2 separate regions of the Homo sapiens genome follow, and region 2 is linked to region 1. Evidence: promoter capture Hi-C in human tissues and cell types (Jung and others, 2019). All regions are on one chromosome and are shown on one strand. Each heading gives the region's core, a stretch centred on a gene start or on the middle of the fragment in contact. The rest is flanking DNA. Distances are from core to core; before and after follow the strand shown. Region 1 holds the start of ZNF770 (zinc finger protein 770). Region 2 holds the start of LOC124903464 (a long non-coding RNA gene).

The links. The method cuts DNA at HindIII sites, captures the fragments that hold promoters and counts their contacts. A contact is called where the count stands out against the background at its distance.
Region 2: a contact is called between a fragment that was not itself captured here and the fragment with the promoter of ZNF770 in region 1, in 1 of the 25 tissues and cell types used here (H1 embryonic stem cells).

What each region holds. Positions count from the first base shown.
Region 1 is chr15:34,986,323-34,990,098 of GRCh38, reverse strand. It overlaps ZNF770 (zinc finger protein 770), which reads left to right and starts at 1,812. Exons shown (of 3, transcript NM_014106.4): 1 at 1,812-1,983; 2 at 2,426-2,542. LOC105370764 (a long non-coding RNA gene) reads right to left here and starts at 1,741. Exons shown (of 5, transcript NR_188212.1): 1 at 1,615-1,741; 2 at 289-414. RefSeq lists enhancers at 1,628-1,717, 3,124-3,173, 3,254-3,313. The HindIII fragment of the contact is 19,041 bases long and covers 1-3,776 here.
Region 2 is chr15:35,433,922-35,437,697 of GRCh38, reverse strand. All of the region lies in intron 5 of DPH6 (diphthamine biosynthesis 6), which reads left to right. It overlaps LOC124903464 (a long non-coding RNA gene), which reads left to right and starts at 1,448. Exons shown (of 2, transcript XR_007064580.1): 1 at 1,448-3,776. The HindIII fragment of the contact is 4,033 bases long and covers 1-3,776 here.

The sequences.
Region 1 (3,776 bases), core at 563-3,062:
GCCCCCACATTTTTTATTTATTCATAGTCTACCCACTACTGCTAGTTCAAATTTCACATATTCAATGAAATCTTCCTTGATTACTCTTATTCATGTTAATTTCTCTTTTTTTTCCAGAAGGCTCCTGAGATAGCTCTCACGGTAAATGGGGGAGGTTATGACATGGGGCATGTGGCCTTGGAGAATAGCCTATTCAAGTCCTAACTGCTTTCACACTCAATATATATTCAGACTCTCCATGCAAAGGCCAATTTGTTTTGCAGGTAATGGATAAAGAACGAATCTCACCCTCCAGTGGTCCCCAATTTCAGGTAGTGTTTTCTCATGATATGGATGTATCTCCTAAGGCTGATGTGGCTGATGATGGATGCAATTGTTTGCATTATTTGGCTGAGTTAAGTTTCCCAGGAGTAGCTGCAGAATGGAGCAGATTTACAAGGGTTATCCGGACAAACAGCATCCCCACTTTGGGACTAGCATTTAGGACACCAGAAGTCTTTCCTTTCCCTTCTCCACCCCTGCTTCTGTTGGAAGCAGACTTCAACCCCTCCCAAATCTGACTCCTTCAGGGTTCCTACATGAGAAGCAAAAGCTCATTTCCTATTCGCCATTTCCTCATGCTAACACATCCAAAACAGAGAATTTTTGTTGGCTCAGCTGCTTTAATTTTTTTGGTAGAGGAAAATATATCAACATTAGAAACCATTGATTTTTGTTGCTGATGGTCCTTAGAAAGTAATGCAAAAAGTTGCTTAGAGTTAAAAAAGTATGCCTGATAATCTGCTTTCATTTCCTCCTTTCTCAAGGTGATACAATTACAATCAGAACCTGCAAAAAATCCACAGTAAATTCTTCTCTAATGCCTTTTGCACTTAAAATCTTTAGTAGATACCTTAGCATCTTATTCAGTAATAACATGCCAACTTAGTCTGTAACTAAATATTTGGTCTTCAATTGTGACTACATAAAATGCTGAAATATCTATAACTTGGGAAGCAGCAGTTATAAATGCAGGTCTGGTATTAGACAACCTGTGTTCAAATCGCACCTCTATCGTTTATTAACTGTGTGACATTAAGTTCCTTAACGTCTCTGATAGCCTCATTTTCCTCATCTTAAAATGGGATCCTATCATTTCATAAAGTTGTATTCTATATGAGTAATTAATAATGATAATAGTTCTTTGAAGGCCTACTACACTAGGAATTATGTTGAGCACTTCACACTCATTTTATCTAATTGTGAGAACAGGGCTTCGTACACTGTAGACAACCAAAACATACTGAATGATTGAGGCGGGGCTAATGAGGTCCGCAGCTGGCACGCCATTAGAGGAGTCGCGAGTGGAGCTCAGTCATGTCTGCCCACAAAGCGCCTGCGCTTGACCTCTACGTTATATTTACTTTGGCAATGTACAAAGTGGTGAGGACAGTCCTAGCCCGGAGGGCCCCTAACACATTGTCGTCTTCTTATCCTCGGCCCTCTGCGTTAGAGAGGGCTGCCCCGAATCGGCTTTGAACGCTGACTCGCCCTTTTCCAGTCGGCCCTTGAGCCCACTAGTCAGGGCTACAGCGTTTTCCTAACCGAGGTTCAGAGGTGAGATGGAAAATGTACCCGTCTTTATTCTGTTCTCTCCCCTGCAATGACAGGGTGAATGGCGGTGGGGTTGGGGGCACGTCTCCAGAGTCCCAGTCCGCTCGGGACCCGCGGACCGCCCGGAGGCGACAACGGCCCTGAAATTGGGGGGAGCTTGTTTCCAGCCGGACTGTGTCCCTGGGCGCGCCAGAGCGCCGCGCCTGCGCGCTCAGCCCGTTGCCGCGCCGGCCCTGCGGACGTGCGCGCGCTGCCTTCGCGGCACCTGGGCCTGAGGTGCGTGCCTCCCGGGCCCTCGCCAGCTCCAGATGCGTGAGGAGGACTTCAGAAACCCGACTGAGAAGTGGAGCGACCCCCAGGGAGGGTCGGACCTGCCTCAATACCGCCAAGGTGCCTGGGGACCCAAGAACGGGGGCTCCACAACCTCAGTTCCTGAGCTCCTTTTGCTTTCTCACTTCCCCACCTATTGAGTGCGTCTCACGCGGAGCAGAAATTTGAGAGGAAGGCGTAGAGGGATTTTTTTTTGTTGTTGCTGTGGGTTGTATCACATGTGGCGTTTTCATCCTGGCTGCAGCCAAAGCAGTTTTTACCCTTACCCTTCCTTTCCTGGCGTGGGATTTTGTGGTTTCTGGACTCGGCTCGACCATTACGTGCTTATTATTGGTTGTGGGCCTTTAGAACGAGGACTGTGTGTCAGTGTCCTTTGTCCAGTGTAGTCCACTGGGAGGGAGAGGTGAGGGTTCAAGGCCAAGAGAATGGGCCCGGGGCGAGTGGGGCAGAAGCAGCCGCCGGAGATTATTCCCCAACTGAAAGTTGTGTGTGTTTCTCTTAGGTCTTTCATTTCTTGTTCGCTTACTTTCGTGAAATCCTCACATCGTTTTAATGGTACTAGTCAAGACAAGAAAATCAACAGGCTTTCAGCCTTGAGGCAACATTGGATATTATTGAGGTCAGTTTTTACAGTTTTTACAGTCTTCACGTAGAGTATCTTGTTCTTGTCAGGATAAATTCTGGATTGAACCACTGAGCAGATCTACTATTCTTTTATTTCAGTTTAAGATAAGAAAAATTACAGTCTTTTTTATTTTTATGTTATCAACAAAAATCGGTTGAAATGGGATTTGGAGCTCCATGAGTGCGTGAGGTGAGGATCCCTAACCTGACTCTCATAAACAGGAGATAGGATCACCACTTGCCACTAATGGTTCTAACAATCTAGGGCTCCCAGTAAGTGCTTTTCCACGTGGTGGGAGGCAAGTGACAACAGTTATCCAATCTTAGTGCTAACAATGGATGATTAACCGTAGCTCCTTTTTGGTACAGGAGCTGTAGGTAGCCAATCCCTGTTTTAATCAGAGGTAGTTGTGGTGTGTGATTTTTTTCTTTTAGGCGTGTTCCACGAAAGCATTTATTAAAGGGAAGAAGAAACATACAAAAGGAATTGAATCTGGCTTTATACCAAAATCCTGTGTGATCATTCAGTCCTGACATTGGACAATTACCAGGCTTTGCCTGACTGGCCTCAAGGGCCAAGCTGTCCTCCCACACCATACTCGATATGGGCCGGTGCATTGCAGTTTTCTGGAGGGGGTTGCAGTCAAGGACTTGCCCTGCCCCTCCTGCTAGATATGCAAATCCCATAACTTCTTTCCTAGCCTGGGTACCTCCATTTGGAGGCCCTCCTAGGAAGGACCGTGGCTAAGACACTTTTCTCCATTTTTGACCCAGCTTCTTTCACTCCTAGACCTTCCCCTCCCTTTCCTATTCTGAAGTTCCATAAGAGGCAGGAGATTTTTGTTAGGGGCTCCTTTCAGTGAGAGGATTACCTCATATGCACTGCATCAACTGACCCTCACCCAGTGTCCTTGTATTTAGTAGACCACTGGGGAGCCAGTGCCTCTTTTTACCACTTGCTTGCACTGTCACAGTAAGTGAATAAAGGCTTGATTACTTTTGGTTTGACTCATTGTCCTGATTGACTACCTTGGCACCTAATTGCTGCCAAGTTCTTTGCAGTTCACTGGATTCATGACTTAATTTTAATTATCATGACTGTTGCTCTGTATCGGCATGTTTAGAGACTTTGGAGCTTGTTCACCTCTAATTTCTCTAATTCAAGCTACTGAAAATGCATATTCATAGCACCAAGAGTTGATTGTTGGTTAACATTGATATCTGGGTTA
Region 2 (3,776 bases), core at 754-3,253, 450 kb before region 1:
CATCCTAAGGTACCCCTCTTTCTGACAGAACCATGCAGAGTGACATGCAGAGCACACCAGTTTGGCTATAGCTTAAGACCAGCCTCACAAATCCTTTTTCATAATTAAAACTTTACAGAAAATATAAACAGTGATCCTTACCATTCCCTTTACCGGTTTGCACCAGGAGAGGGAGGCCAAAAGCCCAACTGGTAAGAAAAAAGTTTACTCTTTTGCCTGCATGTCAGGCTCCGGGGTTCCCTTCCTCCAAGCTCAGTCCCAAGCCAACCAGTTTAAGGTTTGGGAAATTAACTTCTCCCAGTTTGGAGCATACATCCAAGAGGACTGTCCTGTAGGGGGACCCAATTACTCATCTGTGAAGAAAGGACAGAGGAGGAAAAAGGAAAAAGAAGACATTTTTTTCAAAGGAGCCCCAGGACTCAGGGTGCATTCAAAAGAGGTTCACAATGAAGATGAATGGCTACTCATCTAGAAAGAGGGGAGCGAGGCGTTCCTGGTTCCATTTTCTTCCTAGTGAATACCGTGGATATGTGAGGGAGAGAAAGTGAGGCATCCCTCTTTCTTTCGTCTGAGTATCCCTGAGGCCCAGCAACTGTGACAGGGTGCCACCATGGGCGTCAAAGTGGCTTTCACCCATGTAAACATGGGTGCCTAGGGAGTGGGATTATCTGCTGTTACCCACGTACACCCTGTCTCCCCTGCTGTTAGTAGCCTTCGAGCTCCAAAACTTGGAATTGAGTTTGGGACAAAAATGTGTCTCGGGGGTTGCATGGACTCCTTATCATAAGCCAAATGCTAAGGAGAAGCTGTGGAATTGAGTCCTCCAACAAGGGAGAGAAAAGGGTGTCCTGGCCTAGTAAAATGTCCTCTAAAAGGGGGAGAAAAAAAAGCCTCTTGCATAAAACTTAACTCCTGACCTGGTGGAGAAAAGAAAAAAAAAAAAACTTAAAGGCAGGGCTGTCTTAACTGAGACAGGATGGAGAAAAACAAAAAAAACTTAAATGCAAAGCTGTATTCACTGCTGACAGGGTGGAGGAAAGAAAAAGGTGCCTGAGCAAGAAACCTCTTATTCTTATGCAAATGGATTTCTCCAACAGGAGAGAAACTTTTTCTTTTATGAGATGGAGTCTCTTTCTGTCACCCAGGCTGGAGTGCAGTGACGAACAGGGAGAGAACCTTTTTTGTTTTGTTTTGTTTTGTTTTGTTTTGTTTTGTTTTTGTTTGTTTTGTTTGAGACGGAGTCTCACTCTGTCTCCCAGGCTGGAGCGCAGTGGCGCCATCTCGGCTCATTGCAAGCTCCGCCTCCCTGGTTCACGCCATTCTCCTGCCTCAGCCTCCCGAGTAGCTGGGAGTACAGGCGCCCACCACCACGCCCAGCTAATTTTTTGTATTTTTAGTAGAGACGGGGTTTCACCATGTTAGCCAAGATGGTCTTGATCTCCTGACCTCGTGATCCGCCTGCCTTGGCCTCCCAAAGTGCTGGGATTACAGGCATGAGCCACCGCGCCCAGCAGGAAAGAAGCTTTCAATTGCTGTCGGACTGAGCTAGACCCCTCGGCCAGGGAATGAGGGGACTCCATGGAGGTGTCGCGAGGTATGCTGCTCAGCTGGACGTGCAGGGCCTCTGGCCCCTGAGACTGCCCTGGGGCCAGGGCAGCAGCTATGGCCATATGTGCACCTACAGCCATTGGGGTGGAGGTGGATGACTGCTATAGTAAAAGAAAAGATAGGTGCCATTACGGTCCCAAAAAAAAGAAGGAAAATGCCATAGAAAAGGCTGGTTTGGACCAAGGCTGACATTCCCAAACCCCGAGAGCGAAGAAGGGACCACAGTTTCCTCTACCCTCAGAAGAAGTCCAAGGACAAGAAGGCTCAGAAACAAAAGGAAAAGAGATTTTTTGGTCCACATTTTACTCACCCCTCCTCATATGCCCGTATGGACCACCAAAATGATGCAAGATTTTTTGCTCCTTCAGCTAAAAATCTGGGTTCTTGTCTCACAACCAAGAAAAATTAGGCATACAGACACATGGAAGGGTGAGGAGGACAGATTTATTAGGCAAAAAGAATGCTCTCAGAAAAGAAAGAGGGGGTCCTGCCAACATGCACCCACATCACAGATTGAATACCAGGCCACCACACATGAGCTGAAGAGGCCTGACTCCTCCCCCTGCATAAGGCATGAATTCCTGGTGGCTTTACCCCATTCTCCCAGTGCTCATGCAGACCCCCAGTCTGTTGCAGGCATGCCCAGGCAAAACCCTGTGCAGGTTCCCTTTTCTGCCTCCTGCATCTATCAATTACTGCTCAATGTTTGCCTTTTTTGAAGCCATTCGAACAGTTGTCTACATTTGATTGTCCAAAACTCAGTAATTGTCACGTGTAGGCTATGGTGTGTTTACACCTCTACTTGTTGTATTTCACGATGTACAGAGATACCTTTAGGTCAAACTTAAAATATGTAAGGAGGCAGCTTTAGACTAAACTTGATTTAATGTTATGCAGCACCCAGGTGTATTTTTGTGGAAGGGTCGTGTAGATAATCGACCATTCTACTGGGGAAGGAAGTTTTTTACTTTATTTCTAACAATACAGTATTACTTAACTCACCAAAACTCATTAGTGACCAGGCATAGTGGCTCACACCTGTAATTCCAGTTCTTTGGGAGGCTCAGGTGGGCAAATGGCTTGAGCTTAGGAATTCAAGATCAGCTTGGGCAACATGGTGAAACCCTGTCTGTACAAAAAAAAAAAAAAATAGCTGGGCATGGTGGCATATACCTGTAGTCCCAGCTATCTGGGAGGCTGCAGTTGGAGGATCACTTGAGCCTGGGAGCCGGAGGTTGCAGTGAGCTGAGGTCATGCCACTGCACTCCAGCCTGGGCGACAAGAGTGAGACTCTGTCTCAAAAAGAAAACAAAACAAACAAACAAAAAAAGCCTTAGTAGTAATTTATGTTTCTTAATTATATATTTTTTCATCTTTATTGCTTTGAATTTTGTTTTGATGTTAATGATAGGACCACTGCAACCTTTCTTTACATTTGCCTGATACATTGTTGCCTGTTCTTTCATTTTCACTTTTCTATGTGTGTGTGCGTGCATATACTTTTAGATGCATTTTATAATTGGCGTAACATTGGATTTTATTATTGACCCAATCTTTGTCTTAAAAAGTTTAACTGTTTTTACTGATATAATCAATTAATTATTTCTTAATTTTTCTACTTATTTTATTCATTTTATGTCATCAATTTTTTGTTTTACTGCTTTTCCCTTTATTTTCTACCTTTTGCTATATGGAATATTTTAGTGCCCTCTGTTGTTTTGGCAGTAATGCATTCTATTAATAATTAGCTTTAATCTTTTCAAAGGTGTTCTTTAAATTATGATTTTTAAAATATCAACATCAAAGTTGTAATAGTCCCTTTTTATCACTTCCTAATCAATATAAGGAATTGAAGAGACTAGGCCTATAAGTGGACCAGAGACCTAGTCGTATTAGGTATCCTTACCTCCCAGAGATAGAAACGACTGACCTTTGACTCAAACTGGCCTGCTGTATTTTTTTCAGAAATGTATCTGCTGTTTTGAGTCTGATTTGTACTAGTTTATAAGCTGATAGTAGAGATGGATATAAACATTTTCACGGCAAGATGCTTTGGTACCCTGACAGTTGATTTATATATTGTAGAGGGCAGCCTTGTACAGTACATTTGGGAATGTCACAACCACATAAAGATATCTCTACCTCCCTTCTCTTTTCTCTTCCACAGA